7 separate regions of the Homo sapiens genome follow, and all the other regions are linked to region 2. Evidence: promoter capture Hi-C in 16 types of primary human blood cells and fetal thymus (Javierre and others, 2016). All regions are on one chromosome and are shown on one strand. The core of a region is centred on a gene start or on the middle of the fragment in contact, and the rest is flanking DNA. Distances in the headings are between cores, read along the strand shown. Region 1 overlaps PTPN9 (protein tyrosine phosphatase non-receptor type 9). Region 2 holds the start of SNX33 (sorting nexin 33). Region 3 overlaps SIN3A (SIN3 transcription regulator family member A). Region 4 overlaps PTPN9 (protein tyrosine phosphatase non-receptor type 9). Region 5 overlaps PTPN9 (protein tyrosine phosphatase non-receptor type 9). Region 6 overlaps SIN3A (SIN3 transcription regulator family member A). Region 7 overlaps SIN3A (SIN3 transcription regulator family member A).

Evidence for each region. Contacts are between HindIII fragments. The CHiCAGO score rates a contact against its expected background, and 5 or more counts as called.
Region 1: a fragment that was not itself captured here is called in contact with the fragment with the promoter of SNX33 in region 2 in 10 of 17 cell types (naive CD4 T cells, naive CD8 T cells, total CD8 T cells and 7 more); the score reaches 23.8 in naive CD4 T cells.
Region 3: a contact is called between a fragment that was not itself captured here and the fragment with the promoter of SNX33 in region 2, in 5 of 17 cell types (naive CD8 T cells, total CD4 T cells, naive CD4 T cells and 2 more). The highest score is 7.6, in naive CD8 T cells.
Region 4: a contact is called between a fragment that was not itself captured here and the fragment with the promoter of SNX33 in region 2, in 9 of 17 cell types (activated CD4 T cells, naive CD4 T cells, erythroblasts and 6 more). The highest score is 7.1, in activated CD4 T cells.
Region 5: a fragment that was not itself captured here is called in contact with the fragment with the promoter of SNX33 in region 2 in 6 of 17 cell types (total CD4 T cells, naive CD4 T cells, naive CD8 T cells and 3 more); the score reaches 9.0 in total CD4 T cells.
Region 6: a fragment that was not itself captured here is called in contact with the fragment with the promoter of SNX33 in region 2 in 9 of 17 cell types (naive CD4 T cells, naive CD8 T cells, erythroblasts and 6 more); the score reaches 9.6 in naive CD4 T cells.
Region 7: a contact is called between a fragment that was not itself captured here and the fragment with the promoter of SNX33 in region 2, in 16 of 17 cell types (fetal thymus, total CD4 T cells, naive CD8 T cells and 13 more). The highest score is 13.0, in fetal thymus.

Annotation. Positions count from the first base shown.
Region 1 is chr15:75,506,007-75,508,964 of GRCh38, forward strand. PTPN9 (protein tyrosine phosphatase non-receptor type 9) reads right to left here. Exons shown (of 13, transcript NM_002833.4): 6 at 2,911-2,958. Among named protein-coding and RNA genes, the nearest start is that of SIN3A, 56 kb to the left of the region's middle. The HindIII fragment of the contact is 2,620 bases long and covers 279-2,898 here.
Region 2 is chr15:75,646,588-75,649,320 of GRCh38, forward strand. It overlaps SNX33 (sorting nexin 33), which reads left to right and starts at 1,325. Exons shown (of 2, transcript NM_153271.2): 1 at 1,325-2,733. The coding sequence starts at 2,516. RefSeq lists a silencer at 944-1,483 and an enhancer at 1,109-1,800. The HindIII fragment of the contact is 30,102 bases long and covers 1-2,733 here.
Region 3 is chr15:75,417,238-75,420,079 of GRCh38, forward strand. All of the region lies in intron 3 of SIN3A (SIN3 transcription regulator family member A), which reads right to left. Among named protein-coding and RNA genes, the nearest start is that of SIN3A, 33 kb to the right of the region's middle. The HindIII fragment of the contact is 5,237 bases long and covers 1-2,842 here.
Region 4 is chr15:75,464,174-75,466,873 of GRCh38, forward strand. It overlaps PTPN9 (protein tyrosine phosphatase non-receptor type 9), which reads right to left. Exons shown (of 13, transcript NM_002833.4): 13 at 1-2,700. Among named protein-coding and RNA genes, the nearest start is that of SIN3A, 14 kb to the left of the region's middle. The HindIII fragment of the contact is 1,761 bases long and covers 469-2,229 here.
Region 5 is chr15:75,488,847-75,491,590 of GRCh38, forward strand. PTPN9 (protein tyrosine phosphatase non-receptor type 9) reads right to left here. Exons shown (of 13, transcript NM_002833.4): 8 at 1,362-1,455. The region is part of intron 2 of LOC105370902 (a long non-coding RNA gene); the gene reads left to right. Among named protein-coding and RNA genes, the nearest start is that of SIN3A, 39 kb to the left of the region's middle. The HindIII fragment of the contact is 274 bases long and covers 1,296-1,569 here.
Region 6 is chr15:75,398,703-75,401,402 of GRCh38, forward strand. It overlaps SIN3A (SIN3 transcription regulator family member A), which reads right to left. Exons shown (of 21, transcript NM_001145358.2): 11 at 2,028-2,238; 12 at 1,338-1,454. Among named protein-coding and RNA genes, the nearest start is that of MAN2C1, 31 kb to the left of the region's middle. The HindIII fragment of the contact is 167 bases long and covers 1,329-1,495 here.
Region 7 is chr15:75,445,829-75,448,710 of GRCh38, forward strand. The region is part of intron 1 of SIN3A (SIN3 transcription regulator family member A); the gene reads right to left. Among named protein-coding and RNA genes, the nearest start is that of SIN3A, 4.4 kb to the right of the region's middle. The HindIII fragment of the contact is 2,544 bases long and covers 270-2,813 here.

The DNA of each region.
Region 1 (2,958 bases), core at 339-2,838, 140 kb before region 2:
GAAGGTTAGAAAGAACCATGTGAGTATGTGGGAGGAGGGAAAGGCATATAGAGTGACAAAGAATAAATGTATTTATATCAGGTTTGGAGGATGGGATAAGATTTTCTTGAAATACAAGGTATACTTGTAAAAGTAGTAGACTACATTTCATCTGCCTGAGATTTAAGTCCTATGAATTTGCCAGATAAAAGTGTGAACTCCCAGAATGTATATAAAATTCACTCCTGGAATTAGGGACACTGTTATACATCTTCTGAAAGGACGATGTAGTGAACAAAAGCTTTATATTATTAACAAGGCTTCCCAGCATCGCTGCATGCTGGTACTCTTTTTTTGGCCACTAAGAATGCATAGGTAGTAGTTATTTTTGTCAACCCCATACTCAGACAACCAATTCTAAGGCCTGTTAGCTTGTATTTTACTCAGCTTGGTATAACTGTTCACAAAGATAGGATTCTATGAAAGCAAGACACCCAGAGGCAGGGTAGCCCAGGAAAAATGTGAGATAACACTTTTTTTTTGAGACAGGGTCTCACTTTTTCACCCAGCCTGGAGTGTAGTGGCGTGATGAAGGCTCACTGCAGCCTCAACCTCCTGGGCTCAAGTGATCCTTCCACCTCAGCCCCTCAAGTAGCTGGGAATACAGATGCACACAACCACGCCCAGCTAATTTTTTGTAGTAACCATAAAACTTAATTCTGCTCTCTGCTTGGACATAGCCATGCTGGAACTAATTAGCTTAACTGGTTCTCCTTAGGATCTCTGTGGAATGGGGATTCTCTTCCTCCTAAAAGCTCATCTCTTTTGCTGTCGCCTCTTCTTGGAATGCCTTCCTTTCCTCCTCTGCCTCTTCATGGACCAGCACAGCTCACCTCTTCTGTGAAGTCTTTCCTGACTGCCTGAGGCCATATGCTCCTCTGCGTTCCTGCAGAGCCAAAGTCCTCCTATGTGTATCTCTGTGTTCCCTATCAAGACCATGAGCTCCTTGAGGGTAGACTGTCTCACTTAATTTTTAATTATCAGGAACCAGTGCTTCGACTACAAAAAGTGCTTAATATATTTTGAGTTTATACATGCATGTATAATTCCTATAATTCAAGTGCAAGAACTTGCCTATGGATTCCTCTCAAAGAGTTACCTTAGAAAAGATCTCTCCAGCTGGCACGGTGGCTCATGCCTATAATCCCAGCACTTTGGGAGGCTGAGGCAGGTGGATCACCTGAGGTCAGGAGTTTGAGACCAGCCTGTCCAACATGGTGAAACCCCATCTCTACTAAAAAAATACAAGAATTAGCTGGGCATGTTGGCAGGAGCCTGTAATCCCAGCTACTTGGGAGGCTGAGGCAGGAGAATCACTTGAACCCGGGGGACGGAGGTTGCAGTGAGCCAAGATCATGCCATTGCACTCTAGCCTCAGCGACAACAGCAAAACTCTGTCGCAAAAAAAAAAAAAAAAAAAGAAAGAAAAGATCTCTCCTGGCTGGGCACGGTGGCTTATGCCTGTAATCCCAGCACTTTTGGGAGGCTGAGGTGGGTGGATCACGAGGTCAGAAGATCAAGACCATCCTGGCTAACACAGTGAAACTCCGTCTCTACTAAAAACACAAAAAATTAGCCGGGCGTGACAGCACACGCCTGTAGTCCCAGCTACTAGGGAGGCTGAGGCAGGAGAATGGTTTGAACCTGGGAGGCGGAGCTTGCAGTGAGCCGAGATCGCTTCACTGCACTCCAGCCTGGGAGACAGAGCGAGACTCCGTCTCAAAAAAGGTGGCTCACGCTTGTAATCCCAGCACTTTGGGAGGCTGAGGTGGGCGGATCATGAGGTCAGGAGTTCGAGACCAGCCTGGCCAATATGGTGAAACACCGTCTCTACTAAAAATACAAAAATTAGCTGGGTGTGGTAGCGTGCGCCTGTACTCCCAGCTACTCAGGAGGCTGAGGCAGAAGAATCGCTTGAACTCAGGAGGCGGGGCTGCAGTGAGCCAAGATCGTGCCACTGCACTCCAGCCTAGGCAACAGAGTGAGACACTCTCAAAAAAAAAAAAAAAAAAAAAAAAAGAAAAGCTCTCTCCTACTCTGCGTCATTAGGTCTCTAAGCAGCTTCCACAGAACCAAATGTTTTCACTTTCATGTCCTGTCTTTTAATTGCTGCAATCAGTAACTGAGACCATAAATCTTTTAATCATGGAACACGCAGGAGATTATAACAGAATTAAAGTTTCTGGTTTTATTGTGGCGGCGGGGTCTCACTGTGTTGCCTAGGCTGGTCTCAAACTCCTGGCCTCAAGCGATCTTCCCGCCTTGGCCTCGGACTCCCAAAGTGTTAGTATTATAAGCATGAGCCATTACACTTGGCCCAGAATTAAAGTAATTTTGAACGCTTTTGAAATTGGGAAGCAACAAGGTATTCTGAGAAAAAAAAATGCCAGGAATAAATGTAGAAAGAGACATAACGAAAAACTTTCCTCCACAACCCTGGTGGTCAAGGGATTGAATGATGTTTCCAGTTGAACAAATTCTAATGCCAGTTCAACTAATGCAGTTATATTACAAGCTGTTAAATATTAAAGGCCTATGCAGCACTAGGATAAATTTTGGAAGTAGCAGCTATCCCTAAGTTACCTCCAGGACACGTTCCTTCAGTACTATCTTATGCAAGGTGCTATAGAAAGTGAGAACCAGATAAACTGTGTTTAGTTTTGAACTTCAAGAAGCTCGTAGGACAGTAAGAGAGGCAGTCTGTATTGAACTGACTAATGCATCAGGTAGAGAATATAAGTGAATGCACTAACAGAAGCAGAACAGGCTCTAGAAGACACGCCAGGAGGATTTTTTGAAGGTAGAAAATTAATTGGCAGGAATTCACTGTATCTATTCACCTCCAGATAAAAAAGGGCAAGCTTGCCTTACCCTCTCCCGGACTTTGTCCTTCAGGAGGAGACTGATGATGGAATAGGG
Region 2 (2,733 bases), core at 75-2,574:
AGGTACCCTCATGTGCACTTTTCATGGCACTAACTAGTCACACTGGGCAGGGAGCATTTGTCTACTTGTCACAACATATCTGAGCTTTTGGAAAATAAGGATAATGTCTTATTTGTCTTTGTAGCTCAGGGGCCTGGTGCAGAGTAGGTACTCAGTTAATGTTTCTTGAGTGCATGACTTGGCTGAATGAATGACTGAGACAGAATGGATTGATTAAAGACAAGAGAGGGTGGACTGTAAGCCCCCCAGGATAGAAACCCCGACTGCCTTGTGGTGTACTACTCCCCAGTGCCCAGCACAGTGCCTAGCAGAATCAATGCCCAAAGTGTTCCCGATATGCTGACCGAGGGTCAGATCCCACTTGCCTCTTCTCGAAGATTCTCTACCTGACCACTTCTCTCCTTGCTGCCGCTGGCTAGCACAGAACATCCAGTCCCCGCTGCTGTACTAAGCAACACGGAACCGGGTGGCACCTAGACTTGTTCCCTGTCGCTGCAGATGTAGAGTAGTGTCTTTCCCTCCTTCCAAGCTAGTCGCCCAGGGCAGGGTCGCCCTGTCTGGCTAGGGTGCTGCACCCGCAGCTCTCGGTATCTTAGGTCAGACGCCTGGAACGCGCAGGCCGTTTCTGTTCCTCCGGAAAACAATCTCTGAGCTGCGCCACGACCCGTCCCTGCGGAGCAGGAGTGGGGAATGGGAAGGTGGGAAGGCGAGTCCGCGACTCTGCTCCCCAACCCCAGCTGGCGCGGCGGCTTTCCACGCACCCCCCTCCCCCCACCCCGATCTCCCGATCCTGGCTCTGGCGCGGTGCTCCTTGCAGCCCCACGCTTTGCAAACTTTCGGAGTTTTACTCCATTTGCGTCACGGAAAAGGCAGGAGGATGACGGAGTCCAGGAAGCGAGGCAGCGGCAGCTGGCAAGCTCCCCCGCCGGGCGCTCCAACCACGGGGGCGTGAGGTGTCTCCCGGCGAGGGCGGACAGGCGGAGGGAGAGGAGGGGAGGTGGCGGTCCCAGGGACCAGCCCCGGAGGCTCTCGGGCCCCCTCGTTCCCGGGTCGTTTCCTCCCTCTCGCCTCCCGGACTGAGCGCCAGCGAGCGAGGGCGCTGGCCAGCTGGGAAGCCGCGCGGAGGAGTAGGCGGGGGCTCGGCTGCAGCGCCCCGGGCCCGCGGGAGGGCGGAGCTGGCCGTCCCTGCCCCGCCGGGACGCACGGAAGTGCAGCGGAGTTTGCCCGATTCTCCAGCCTGCTTCCCCCTCCCTCCTCCCTCTCCCCACCCCTCACCTCCCCTTTGGCGATCCCCTCCTTCCTCAGGACGCCACCTCCCGGAATCGCCTTTTTGTTTTGGAGCTGCCTTCTCGCTGGCGGAGCGGAGGGTCTGCGAGCGCCGGGGAAGGCAGGCTGGGGGCGCAGCCCGCCCCCCACTGGCCGGGCCCCGCAGGGCGGAGAGGAGGACGGACGGACAGACGGCTGGCCGCGCCATCTGCTCGCCGGAGCTCACTCTCCAAACTCCAAACTGTTGAGTGTGTGCGTGCACGCGAGGGTGGTGATCGGGGGTCGTAAGTCCCGGGTGAGGAACCGGTTTCTGCTGGGGTTACCTTTGGACGGGGTTCCTGGGATTCAGAGCAGGGTCAGCGTCAGGCTCAGAAACTGCTGAGGAATTAGGCAAACAAAAGAGACCACTCAGCGAGTGGCTAGAAGTCGCCCGACAGCCTCGTCGCGCCCCCTCCTTCCTCCGGGGTTGGGGCTGGCCACTTCTGGGGCGGGGAGAGGGCGCCCGAGCCGGCGGGGGCTCCGGCTGCGCAGCCGGGGTCGAAGAGTTGGCGGCCTGTTGTGTAAGCCTCAGTCCTTGTTTTCCCGGCCTGGCTCGTTGTGAAGCCGGACACATCCACCCTTGGACTCGATTCAGGCGGCTGCTGCTTTTCTCCTTGCCCCTCTTGGATTTTCCGGATTTTTGAAAACCCAGTGGCCCAGGAGCAAGAGGAGGAAGGAGGAAGGGGCAGATCTGCAGAGGAATGTGAGAGCCTCCCAAAGCGAGAGCCGCCAAAAGAATCTGGGAGCCAGAGGGACAGCCGAGCCCTGCCCGGGTTTCTGGAATGGTGGTTTCAGAGTGAGTCTCTTCTATTTTAGAACGTTGTTCCAGTGGAAAGTGTCGAATTTTTCCCCTCGCAGGGCAGATTTCTCCAGGTCACTTGACTTTTCTTCTGGGAGTAGGAGTTAGGAGAGATTCCCCTCTAACCCCCCAGAGGCTGCTAAGGGAGGAGGAGACTGTGGACATGAGCCCTCCCTGCTCACAAGCATATGCCCGGAGACCTGATAGGGCAGTTTCTGGGCCATGGACATTGCTTTGAAGAGGGGGAGACTGGACAGCATCTGTGGGTGCTGAGACCCCACCTTAGGACCTGAGAGATTGAACTGTGTAAGCGCCATTCAGCTGCGAGTGCATTCTTGGACTGCCTTGTGAGCATCCCCGGTCTGGGCAGGACCCTCTCCTTCCCATCTTTCTATACCACCCAGCCCAGCCATGGCACTGAAAGGCCGAGCCCTCTATGACTTTCACAGTGAGAACAAGGAGGAAATCAGCATCCAGCAGGATGAGGACCTGGTCATCTTTAGCGAGACCTCACTGGATGGCTGGCTGCAGGGCCAGAACAGCCGTGGGGAGACAGGGCTCTTTCCTGCCTCTTATGTGGAGATCGTCCGTTCTGGCATCAGCACCAACCATGCTGACTACTCCAGCAG
Region 3 (2,842 bases), core at 252-2,751, 230 kb before region 2:
GGTGTTTCCTATTTACTCTGAGATACGTTAAGTTTTATTTTGGTAGTTTAACTGAAGCCTAAATATTTAAAATTATACAAAATATCAGGTTTAAGAAATTTCAGAAATAAACATTTGATGTGATTTAAGCCAGTCTTTTTCTTTTTTTTTTTTTTGAGATGGGAGTCTCATTTTGTCTCCCAGGCTAGAGTGCAATGGCGCAATCTCGGGTCACTGCAACTTCTGCCTCCTGGGTTCAAGTGATATCTCCTGCCTCAGCCTCCTGAGTAGCTGGGATTCCAGGCGCATGTCACCACATCCAACTAATTTTTTTGTATTTTTAGTAGAGATGGGATTTCACCATGTTGGCCAGGCTGGTCTTGAACTCCTGACCTCAACTGATCCGCCTGCCTCAGCCTCCCAATGTGCTGGGATTACAGATGTGAGCCACCACACCTGGCCAGGCATAGATAGTCTTTTGATTTGTTGCAAAATGGAACATTTACATTCAAGTCAATCATTAACTGGTGCTGTGGTCTGAAATGTGTCCCACAAAATTCTTACATCGAAACTTAATCACCGATATGATGATATTAAGAAGTGAGGCCTTCAGAAAGTGATTGTGGAGCCCTCATGAATGGGATTAGGGACCTTATAAAAGGGCTGGAGTGAACCAGTGTTAGTCCCTTCGGCCCTTCTCCCTTCCAGTGTAAGGACACACATTCAGGGACCATCTCGAAAAACAGAGTTCAGGCCCTCACCAGACACCAAACCAACTGGCACCTGGATTTTATTTTATTATTTATTTTATTTATTATTATTATTATTTTTTTAGATGAAGTCTTGCTCTTGTCTCCCAGGCTGGAGTGCAAAGGCACGATCTCAGCTCAATACAACCTCCGCCTCCCGGGTTCAAGCGATTCTCCTGCCTCAGCCTCTTGAGTAACTGGGATTATAGGCGCCTGCCACCACGCCCAGCTAATTTTTGTATTTTTAGTAGAGATGGGGTGTCACCATGTTGGCCAGGCTGGTCTCAATCTCCTGACCTCGTGATCCGCCCGCCTCGGCCTCCCAACGTGCTGGGATTACAGGCGTAAGCCACTGCGTCTGGCCTATTTATTTATTTTGAGACATGGTCTCACTCTGTCACCCAGGCTGGAGTGCAGTGGCACAAATTCGGCTCACTGCAACTTCCACCTCCTGAGTTCAAGCGATTCTCGTGCCTCAGCCTCCAGAGTAACTGGGATTACAGGTGCATGCCATCATGCCTGGCTCATTTTTTTGTATCTTCGGTAGTTTTACCATGTTGGCCAGGCTGGTCTTGAACTCCTGACTTCAAATGATCTGCCCTCCTCAGCCTCCCAAAGTGCTGGGATTATAGGCGTGAGCCACCGCACCCGGCCAGCACCTTGATTTTAGATTTCCCAGCCCCCAGAACTTCTCCAGAACTGTGAGAAATAAACTGCTATTATTTAGATTATACAGTCTCAGGTATTTTGTTATAGCAGCACTAATGGATTGAGACAAATGGCCGCTTTTTTGTTTTTGTTTTTTTTGAGACAGAGTCTCGCTCTATCGCCCAGGCTGGAGTGCAGTGGCGCTTTCCCGGCTCACCGCAAGCTCTGCCTCCCGGGTTCACGCCATTCTCCTGCCTCAGCCTCCCAAGTAGCTGGGACTACAGGCGCCCGCCACCACGGCCGGCTAATTTTTTTTTCTATTTTTAGTAGAGACGGGATTTCACTGTGTTAGCCAGGATGGTCTCGATCTCCTGACCTCGTGATCTGCCCGCCTCGGCCTCTTAAAGTGCTAGGATTACAGGCGTGAGCCACCGCACCCGGCCCCGAGACAAATGGCTGTTTAAGAGTTCTTCAGACTTCCATTACGGCCATGGTTAATCAGTGTTTCGGTGTTGCTAGAAATCAGATTGTATAGTTGGTCAATACCCACTTGTTTGATGGTTAGTTTTTCTATACAAATATCATGACAATTTCTGTTGAAATTCAATGGACTATTTTAATTCATATTCTGAACTTTCCATACTAAAATGTTTCATTAATGACCAACTTAAGTGAACACAAAATATATTAAGTTTGCAAAAGGAACCAAGACTTTGGAAGATATTTAAGAATAGCATGCATCATTACACAACAAAAGAACAGTTATCAATAAGACATGGTATGGTATAAGGTAACTACTGCAGAGACGGAAAAAGTACAGAAACCCAAAAGAAAGCAATTATGTGTGATATGTATATGTCTGAAACAAAAAGGTACTGAAAGTCACAGCAAACCAAGCAAACCACTGTTTAAAAATTAGTTATAGGCCAGGTGTGGTGGCTCATGCCTGTAATCCTAGTACTCTGGGAGGCCAAGGAGGGTGGATCCCTTGAGGCCAGGAGTTTGAGAGCAGCCTGGCTAACATGGAAAAACCCCGTCCTAGTAAAAAAAAAAAAAAATACAAAAATTAGGCTTGGTGGTGCATGCCTGTAATCCCAGCTATTTGGGAGACTGAGGCATAAGAATCACTTGAACCCAGGCAGGGGAGGGTGCAGTGAGTTGAGATGGCGCCACTGCACTACAGCCTGGGCAGCAGAGTGAGACTCTGTCTCAAAAAAACAAAAAAGTAAAATAAAAGTTATAGAATAATCCTATGCTTTAAAAACTCTGCATGACACTCACATAATAAATAAGACACCTACATGTAAAAATAGTGAGGAAATTCTCTCATCACCTAAAGCATAGTCCAACTCTTATATAAACTCTCTATAAATGCATGTATACAGTTCTAGGTAGCACAACTTAAAAAAAAAACTTGGATGTAGTTATTTAGAAGCTACAGATTTAAGGAAGCACTTGGGGAGACC
Region 4 (2,700 bases), core at 99-2,598, 180 kb before region 2:
GGTGGCCCATGCCTGTAATCCTCTCACTTTGGGAGGCCGAGGCAGGAGGATTGCTTGAGGCTGGAGTTCGAGACCAGCCTGGGCAACATAGTGAGATCCTGTCTCTAGAGAGAGAGAGAGAAAAAAAAAAAAAGCTGGGTTCCTGCTTGAGCCCAGTTGTTGAGACTGCAGTGAGCCATGATCATGCCACTCCCCTCTAACCTAGGCAACAGAGTGAGACTCTGTCTCTGAAAGTAAAAAAAATGAAAAGTGGGGAGTGCTAGTGGGAGCCAACTCAACCCAAGTAAAGGCCTAATAGCTCCTCTATGGGTGTTTGCACTGTCTAACAAAGAACTGGACCCTGACAGTCAGAGGACCCATGGTAGGATCATCTAGTGTAGCCCCTTCTTTTACAGAGGGAACCTAGGACTTGGGTTTGGTTCAGTGGTAAGACCTCAAAACCACAAAAGAGCTGGGTCACTCTAGAGAAGCTTTTCTACTTGGCCAATGCCTCTTGGCCCAATTCCCTCTAGGTCTCTGATTTATAAAAGTTTTTGTATGTGTGTCTGTCTGTCCCAAGAGACAGGAAGCATTCCTTTCAGGGAAGGAACCAAATTTCCCTAGGGCTATGATGCTAAATAGTCCATTCTCCCAAGAACAAGTCCTACTCTGTCATTTACCTGCATACTGTCACATGAAGACTGATAAGGGTGGGCCTCCGAGGCTGAGGATGCTGGGGCACCCTTCGTCTCAGGAGTCCCATCCTAGCCAATGAGGATGGGCAAGATGAAGGGAGCAATGGGAAAAAGGACACAGGGATTATCTCATGTTTGAAAAATTATATAGCATGGGAATGTTAGAGAAAGGTGAAACAAACAGCCATCAAATCAGAAGCAGAAGCCTGCTTTAGCTCAGTGTTTTCTTCTTTCCTGAACACTGTCTTTCTTTTTTATTTATTTATTTTTTTTGAGATGGAGTTTTACTCTTGTTGCCCAGGCTAGAGTGCAATGGCGCGATCTCGGCTCATTGCAACCTCTGCCTCCCAGATTCAAGTGATTCTCCCATTTCAGCCTCCCGAGTAGCTGGGATTACAAGCACATACCACCACACCCGGGTAATTTTTATATTTTTAGTAGAGATGGGGTTTCATCATATTGGTCAGGCTGGTCTCAAACTCCTGACCTCAGGTGATCTGCCCACCTCGGCCTTCCAAAGTACTGGGATTACAGGCATAAAGCCACTGCACTTGGACCCTGAGCATTTTCTCTTGCTTTGTTCACTAAGTCTCCTGTATGAGAACCCTGACTTGCCAAACAGATTCTGGGTTGCGTCTCTGCCTTCCCTTTCCTTTACCTCCTCCTTTAACACCTAACACAGGTAGGTTCACGCTGGTAAAAGCTACAAACAATGGCAGTGGGAGGAGTTCCTCTGAGTTTTACTGAAAATTTAGGAGACATCAATTTGTTAACTCTCTATAGGGTCAGAAACATGAACTAAATCTATGGTTCCCAAACCTGGATAATCCTGTCACTCACTAACAACCTACTGGATGGGCCCAGAAATCAGCATTTTATGGAGCTGAAGTGATAGATAACCTCACCAGTCTTCAGATATGCAATGAGGAACTCATGCATAACCTTAAATTCACAGGGCAGTCGGGTTACAGCCTCTTCAAATAAATGACAATTTAAAGTTACCTCCTCCAGGCCGTTTATCATTAATCCCATTTCTTACATGTTCCACCAAACCCCTGACCTCTCTGGTTTCTCAGATTTCCAAGAATCTCTGTTCACTTCTTATGTTTGTGCACTCCCAAGAGAATGGAGGCTCATCTGGAGAAGGAACTAGATTAATCTTCTGCTCTACACTTGAGCTCCTGATTATGGTAAGAAACTCGATAAAAATTTATTGGCAGATCAGAAGATGGATCCTTAGAGGAAGTCTAGTGTAAGAGGTGAAAGAAGATACTTTGGAGTCAGATGGTCTGGGATCCTGGCTGTAGCAAATTAACATTCCTGTCTCTCAATTTTTTTCTTCTGTCAATACCTACCTCAAAAGGTTGTTGAGGGTGAATGAGATGATACCTAGAAATTACTCTGAACAGTGCCTGGAATAGAGTGAGCATCCAGTAAATTGGCTGCTATGACTATTATTAAGAACACCCCAATATTTCCCAGCCACAACTGCCCCAACTGGGCAGGCCATCAACAGCCAACAGGTATGATATGGGGAGTGGTCTTCCATGTACAAAGCTTCTGGTTCCTTTCTTTCTAAGAGATAAATGCAAATGACTCAAGATCTTCTCACAAAGACCATGTACCCATAGATATGGAGTCTCCTGGGGAGAATGATAACCCCTTTGGTACGCTGCAGACATGAGGACCCTACATCAGGAGGTCCTAGCTAGGACAGTCAGTCACCAACCCTGTCACCCTTCGCGTCTACTACATGAAGCATGGGCACAAGAACAACAACCTGGAATTTAAGAACTTTTTTTACTCTGAAAGGAGAGCTAAACAAACCTCTGTTCTCCAAACACAAGATCTCCATCTTCCATGCAGTGAAGAGACCACAGGCTTTGTAAGCAGACCAACTTGAGCTCGTTTTAGAGCAAATCACTGTAACCCTCTGGACCTCACCTTCCTCATCTATATAGAAATGAGAAAGGGGTGCACAGGAGAAGGGAGAGAAGATAATATCTCACTGAATTGTTGTGAGGTT
Region 5 (2,744 bases), core at 183-2,682, 160 kb before region 2:
TAGGGGATGCATAAGATGCAGGATGAATTAAAAAACCAACTTGTCCTGGCCGGGCCTAGTGGCTCATGCCTGTAATCCCAGCACTTTGGGAGGCCGAGACGGGCGGATCACGAGGTCAGGAGATCGAGACCATCCTGGCTAACATGGTGAAACCCCGTCTCTACTAAAAACACAAAATATTAGCCGGGCGTGGTGGTGGGCACCTGTAGTCCCAGCTACTCGGGAGGCTGAGGCAGGAGAATGGCGTGAACCTGGGAGGTGGAGCTTGCGGTGAGCCAATATTGCGCCACTGCACTCCAGCCTGGGGGACAGAGCAAGACTCCGTCTCAAAAAAAAAAAAAAAAAAAAAAAATTTGTCCTAATGTTACCCTAACAGATTTTCCTGGTTTAGGATAAAATTTCCAGTCACAATGCCACACACTTAAAAGTAAATAAAGATGTTGTACTCTGGAAAACCTTGTTAGACTGACTCAAAAATTGGCCTGTAATTCCAGCACTTAGGGAGGCTGAGGCAAGAGGATTGTTTGAGCACAAGAGTTCAAGACCAGACTAGGCAACATAGTGAGAACTTGTCTCTACAAAAGTATTTAAAAATTAGCCATGTATGTGGCACACACCTGTGGTCTCAGCTACTTGGGAGGCTGAGGTACAAGAATCACTTGAGCCCAGGAGGTCAAGGTTGCAGTGAGCTGTGATCACTGTACCTAGCCTGGGCAATAAAGCAAGACCTTGTCTTGAGGGAGAAAAAAAAAAGTGGCTCAAATGTGACAAAGACACTAAAGTTAAAGGTGTATGTAAAGTGTTTGAATAAAATGTTCATTAAATATCTCTGTTAATAGATTACATATGAGGCTTTTAACATGTAGATATAATCAAATTAATATATTAAATAATATAGTCATTTGACCATTTCATCTCTATCCCTAGACATTTATGTATACATAAGTTGTCCACAATTTCCTCAGATACAGATGGAGAAATCAGAGGTCACTTATAATCAAAGTTGCTTTGTATTGATGCATATATACTCACCAAAGGAATTGCACTATATGACCATGACTTTACAACTAAGGAGTAAAATGATAAATAATTTAACATCTATGAAGCACCTACAATACAACAGACCTTGCACTATCAGCATTCACATAAAGAATTTCATTTAATTTCCACTCAATACTGTGAGATGGGCATTTGAGGACTTGCCTATGGTCACAGACTAGTATGTAGCAAAATATAAACTCAAACCTAATCTCTCTGGCCTCGGAGTCTACTTTCATTCTACCGAAGTATTAGTAAGCTTCACTTTGGAAGAAGCTCTATTTCCCCCAGTGCACCTAAAAAGATTACATTTATCTGTCTACCTGAGTATGGCCACTTCGCTTTGTTAGCTTCACTCTAGTTTGGTCCAGGCAGGGTACATCCCCATAACGGTTTTTCTCTAGGTTTCCTGGAGACCTGAAGGAAACGAAACAAACAAGCAAGAATAAAGAAAAAGTGGGGACAGTATGTATGTACAAAATCTGACCATGCTAAAGGGGTGTCAATTACTCTTAGGGGTGGAGACATGGAAGCTTTTCAATTTCTAGCCCATACAGTTCCATATCATTTAACATTTTTTGTGGTAAGTACATACTACTTCTAAAAGTAAACATATCTCCATTCAAAAGAGAGAGGGAGACCAGGCATGGTGGCTCACACCTGTAGTCCCAGCACTTTGGGAGGCAGGAGGATTGCTTGAGGCCAGGAGTTCGTGAGCAGTCTGGGAAATGTAATGAGAGCTTATCTCTTTTTTTTTTGAGACGGAGTCTCGCTCTGTTGCCCAGGCTGGAGTGCAGTAGCGTGATCTCGACTCACTGCAAGCTCTACCTCCTGGGTTCACGCCATTCTCCTGCTTCAGCCTCCTGAGTAGCTGGGACTACAGGCTCCCGCCACCACGCCCAGCTAATTTTTTTGTATTTTTAGTAGAGACGGGGTTTCACCATGTTAGCCAGGATGGTCTCGATCTCCTGACCTCATGATCTGCCCGCCTCGGCCTCCCAAAGTGTTGGGATTACAGGCATGAGCCACTGCGCCCTGCCTAATGAGAGGTTATCTCTAGAGAGAAGTCAAAAAATTAGCCGGGCATCATGGCACACACCTGTACTCCTAGCTGCTCAGGAGTCTAAGGTGGGAGGACGGCTTCAGCCCAGGAAGTCAAGGCTGCAGTGCGCTATGACAGCGCCACTGCACACCAGCCTGGGTGACGGAGAGAAACCCTGACTTAAAAAAAAGAGAAGCTGGGTGTGGTGGCTCATGCCTGTAATCCCAGCACTTTGGGAGGCCAAGGCGGGTGGATCACCTGGGGTCAGGGGTTCAAGACCAGACTGGCCAAGATGATAAAACCCTGCCTTTACTAAAAATACAAAAATTAGCCAGGTGTGATGGCACACACCTGTAATCCCAGCTACTCAGGAGGCTGAGCCAGGAGAATCGCTTGAACCTGGGAGGTGGAGGATGCAGTGAGCCAACATCACACCACTGCACTCCAGCCTGAGTGACAAAGCAAGACTTTATCTCAAAAAAAAAAAAAAATAATTAAATTTAAAAACAGAGAGAAGGAGTGGGGATGGGAGTCCCAAATGGCCAAGGCAGAAATTGGTACTAAGAAGTGGGGTGCTTCTGTAACAAATAACTAAAAATGTGGAAGCAGCTTTGGACCTGGGTAATGGACAGAGCTGATAGAATTTGGAAGTACATGCAGAAAA
Region 6 (2,700 bases), core at 162-2,661, 250 kb before region 2:
GCCTTCTTTCAAAAGGAGCCAATCAGGCCAGGTATGGTGGCTCATGTGTGTAATCCCAGCACTTTGGGAGGCCAGGGTGGGATGATCGCTTGGACCCAAGAGTTTGAGACCAGCCTGGGTAATGTAGTAAAACACTGTTTCTATAAAAAACAAAAAATTAGCCACAGGGGGTAGGAGGCAAGGGGAGGGAGAGCATTAGGACAAATACCTAATGCATGTGGGGCTTAAAACCTAGATGATGAGTTGATAGGTGCAGCAAACCACCAAAGCACATGTATATCTATGTAACAAACCTGCACGTTCTGCACATGTATCCCAGAATTTAAAGTTTAAAAAAAAAAAAAAAAAATTTACCCAGGCATGGTAGCACATGCCTGTAGTCCCAGCCACTCGGTGGCGGGTAGGGGTGGGGGTCTGAGGTGGGAGGATCACACTTGAGTCTGGAAGGTTGAGGCTGCAATGAACTGTGATTGTGCCACTGCACTGCAGCCTGGGCAATAGAATGAGACCCTGTCTCAAAAAAACAAAACAAAACAAAGCAATCAGCTGGGCGCAGTGGCTCACACCTGTAATCCTAGCACTTTGGGAGGCCGAGACGGGTGGATCACGAGGTCAGGAGATCGAGACCATCCTGGCTAACACGGTGAAACTCCGTCTCTAATAAAAATACAAAAAATTAGCCGGACGTGTTGGCGGGCGCCTGTAGTCCCAGCTACTCGGGAGGCTGAGGCAGGAGAATGGCATGAACCTGGGAGGCAGAGCTTGCAGTGAGCCGAGATTGCGCCACTGCACTCCAGCCTGGGAGACAGAGCGAGACTCCGTCTCAAAAAAACAAAACAAAACAAACAAACAAACAAACAAAAAACAACAAAGCAATCAATACCAGAAACATGAAAGAAAAATGCCAGTTCTCAGAGCTGGTTTGCTAACCATGGCAAGATACTTGCTAAGGGTAACAATACACACAGATCTTAAATAATTTAAAAACAGCTTCAAGAAAGTACTATAAACCTTAGGATACTGATTTTCTTCACCATGCAAAACATAATAATCTTAAAATGCCATGCAAAATCAAAAGAACTATTATTTAGTCATCAATGGACAATTTCAGTTAAAAGGGCTAAAGTGGCCTAGATAAGTCACATTTGCCATAAAGCATGTACTAATATATACATTTGACCAATGCATAAAGCATGGAAAGTACCACAACAAGCACTTACCATAGAAGAATGTGAGCCTTTGGCTCTTCCATCTTAATAACCCTCAGAGACAGGTACTGATAGTCTCACTGAGCATCTCCCATTTCCCCCAACTTCAAATGCCAAACAAGCTTGTACCTCAAAGCGTTCATCTTCACAACGATAAATATGTTCTTCATATTGAGTCTTCTTGGAACTCACAAAGGTAGAGTCCTCAGACCACGAAGGGAAGGAAACCCAGGTATCATTTAAAACCTTTGGGTAGAAGAAGAGAGACTGAAACAAAAGCCTAAAAAAGCTTTCTGGTGATTAAGCATTCTGAATGAAAAGACAAAACTCTAGCAGAGAAATAGGCAACTAATATTACTTCACAAATTTCACCTTTAGCAAGTTTACAAAAAGCTATTAGTAAGAAAAGGGTGCTGAATATAAGCGGAAATATAATTCCAGTGCTTTGGGAGGACGAAGCAGGAAGATCACCTGAGCCCAGGAGGAGTGACCCAATCTTTACAAAACTAAAAACTTTTATTTTTATATTTTTAGCTGGGTGTGAAGGCATGTGTAAGTCCCAGGTACTTGGGAGGATCATTTGAGCCCAGGAGGTTGAGGCACTATGAGCCGTGATCACATCACTGCACTACAGCCTGGGTGACAAAACGAAACCCTGTCTCAAAAACAAACAAAAAAGTAGAAAACATTTTCTTTTTAAAAAGGATTAAAAGGGTTCTTAATTTCATCATTCATATAAATTCTCAATCCTTGGTACCACCACTCCCTTCTGGAAAAAGCTGAGGACCCAGGGCTGATCTTTGCTAGGGAAGGCCTTACCTCTTTACAGAGAGGAGTCCGTCCTGTACACTTGGGCTGCTGGTAACTCTTTGGTAAGGCTCGATAGCTGGAGCCCAATCGTTTACAAGAAGCATAATCTATCTCCATAGCAATGCCCTCTGTGGCTCGCTCCTTTGGATAAGTTTCCAGATGTACAGACTCCTTATAGCCCAGAAAGTTTTTAAACCAATTAAACAACTCAGGGAATTTCCTGAAGAATCAAACCAAAAAGTGACAAGCAATTAGGGGCAGGATGCAGTTATCCTGAGGTATGACTACTACCATCTGGTTTTGGATCAGAAATCTGCTACCAGGGATGAATTATTTCCTGCCTAAGAAGAACTGCTTCTGAGCATTTGGTTTCCCCTTTTTCTAATAAAATACTCTCAGATCAGTTAAAGTGGTGATCAAAGAGTTGTACCGAAACCAGGCAAAATAACAAGCCATTCTTTTGATCAAGAATATTGCTTTAATGTTCACATAATTCTTAGGTTGTCAAATATAGTAAAGATTCCAGACTCGGTGTAGTGGCTCATGCCTGTAATCCCAGCACTTTGGGAGGCCGAGGCAGGTGGATTACCTGAGGTCAGGAGTTCTGGACCAGCCTGGCCAACATGGTAAAACACCGTCTCTACTAAAAAACATAACAAAAATTAGCCGGGCGTGTGGTGAC
Region 7 (2,882 bases), core at 292-2,791, 200 kb before region 2:
TCTTGAAAGGACAGGTGGAAGTGTCACTCACATCTCACACTGCTTTTATCACATTAGCTCTTCTGCTCCCACACAAACATGGGCACATAACATCTTTAACCATCTATGTATCCTCTACCATGCTCAGCATACTGCTTTGTCTTGTCTGTGGTGGAAACCAAATCATTCATTCATGTATACATTCTCTAATATCTACTGAGCACATACTATGCACCAGGTGTTTTAGGAGCTGGAGATACAACGGTAAACAAAAATCTCTTCCCTCAAGAAGCTTATATTTTAGTGAAAGATGACACAATAGACAAAGTATAATATTTAGAATAGTAGGCAGTGACAGGTATCAAGAACAAAAGGCAAGGAAGAGTTTTTGAAATTGTAGATAAGAATGGTCAGATAATACCTACTGATAAGGTAACTTCTGAGTAAAGGAAGTGAGGGAGCTAGTCATGCAGAAATTAGTGGAGGAAGCCTTCTAGGCAGAGGGGACAGCAACCGCAAAGACCCTCATGTCTTTGTGAGGGCTCACATGTGCTTGACATGTTCCAAAACAGCATGAAGGCTGGGTAGCTGAAGAAAAACGAAAGAAGGACTAGTCAGAAATGTAGTCAGAGAGGTACTAGGATAAGGGTGGCAGGCAGAGGGTACATCAGATTTGTTCTTACAGGTGTTTTTTTATTTTTTGACACAGGGTCTCATTTTGTCGTCAAGGCTGGGGTGCAGTGGCACAGTCATGGCTCACTGCAGCCTCAAGCTCCTGAGCTCAAGCAATCCTCCTGCCTCAGCCTCTCAAGTAACTGGGACTACAGGCACGCGCCAGCATGCTTGGCTAATTTTTAATTTTTTTATAGAGACAGGGTCTTGTTATGATGCCCAAGCTGGTCTCAAACTCCTGGACTCAAACGATCCTCCCACTTGAGCTCCCAAAATGGTGAAATTACAGACATATCCTTTTTTTTTTCTTTTGAGACAGTCTCGCTCTGTCGCCCAGGCTAGAGTGCAGTGGCACGATCTTGGCTCACTGCAAGCTCCACCTCCCGGGTTCACACCATTCTCCTGCCTCAACCTCCCGAGTAGCTGGGACTACAGGTGCGTGTGCCACCATGCCCGGCTAACTCTTTTGTATTTTTTTTAGTGGAGACCATGTTAGCCAGGATGGTCTCAATCTCCTGACCTCGTGATCCGCCTGCCTCAGCCTCCCAAAGTGCTGGTATTACAGGCATGGGCCACCGCGCCCAGCTCATTACAGACATATCTAAATAAGGACTCAGGTTTAATACTCAGACTGAAATGGAAAGCCACTGGATGGTTTTAAGCAGAGAAGTGACACGGTATGACTTAGGTTTCAAAAGAATCACTTGGGTTGCTATGTTGAGAACACATTTAAGAGCCGCAGTAACAAAACAAGGAGAATAGAATCCAAGCTAGAGATGCACAGGCACTGACTAGGGCAGTGGAGATGCAGATCCTAAGTGGTCTAATTCTGGATAGTATTTTGAATATAAAGCAGTAAAATTTACTGATGGACCACATATGAAAAAGACACAGAAGAGTCAACAATGTCTCTTAGTTATCCAAGAGGAGACATCGAGTGGAGACCTTGAGTGGGCCACTAAACATATTAGTCTATGGTAGAGGGAGAGATCCCCGTTAGAGTCATCAGCATTGTTTGGATTTTAGAAAGGTAATATGGTACATATACTGTATCATCTCTCTCTCCCAGCTAGGGCTGAGTAGCTCCCCATAATCAAGCAGTCACATTTCTGCATCATGCAGGATAGCCCAGGTCAGGCTGTACCCCAAAACTAGTTGTGGAACTAGACTTACCAAAAAACAAAAACTCTTGCATTTCAGAACTGCAAATAAAGGATGTGGACCTGCATATCCTCCAATAGCCCATATGTCAGCAAGCCTAGCCCTGGAGGACACCAAGAAGACTCATGAAGGGTCCACTGTCATGCTGAGAAATATGGGTAACATACAAGCATACAAGACAAAAAGTGGGTAGGGAAAACAAAAGCAAAAGGGGCAAATAAGAAATACATCAGGTAGAAATTGCCACCCATGACCGGGCACGGTGACTCACGTCTTAATCCTAGCACTTTTGAGAGGCTGAGGCAGAAGGACCTCTTGAGCCCAGGAGTTCGAGACCAGCCTGGGCAACACAGCAGGACTTCACCTCTATAAAAATATAAAAAAAATTAGCCAGGTGCGTGGTGGCACACACCTGTAGTCCCAGCTACATGGGAGGCTAAGGTAGGAGGGTCGCTTAAGTCCAGAAGATCAACACTGCAGTGAGCTGTGATCATGCCACTGCACTCCAGCCTGGTGACAGAGCGAGACTTCGTCTAAAAAAAAAAAAAAAAAGACATGAGAAAAAAAGACATTATGCGGCCGGGTGCAGTGGATCATGCCTGTAATCCCAGTACTTTGGGAGGCTGAGGCGGGCGGATCACGAGGTCAGGAGTCTGCGACCAACCTGATCAACATGGTGAAACCCTGCCTCTACCAAAAGTACAAAACTTAGCCAGGCGTGTGGTGGCGCCCCAGCTTCTTCTTCGTGGAGGCTGAGGCAGGACAATCGCTAGAACCCGGGAGGCGGAAGTTGCAGTGAGCTGAGATTGCACCACTGCACTCCAGCCTGGGAGACAGAGCAGGACTCCATCTCAAAAAAAAAAAAAAGTCTAGTGCCTAACACAGTATCTGTGACACAGTAAGTGCTCAATAAATATCAGCTTTTATTTTTCAAGGGGCGAGGAAGGTGTATTTTGAAAAAGCATATACTATTTATTTTTTTAAAGGCCTACAGAAAGTAAAGCTTAACAAACTCTTGGCTGGTGGATTGCCCAGAAAAGAGAGAAAGCCATGAAAAGCACTATGCTAAA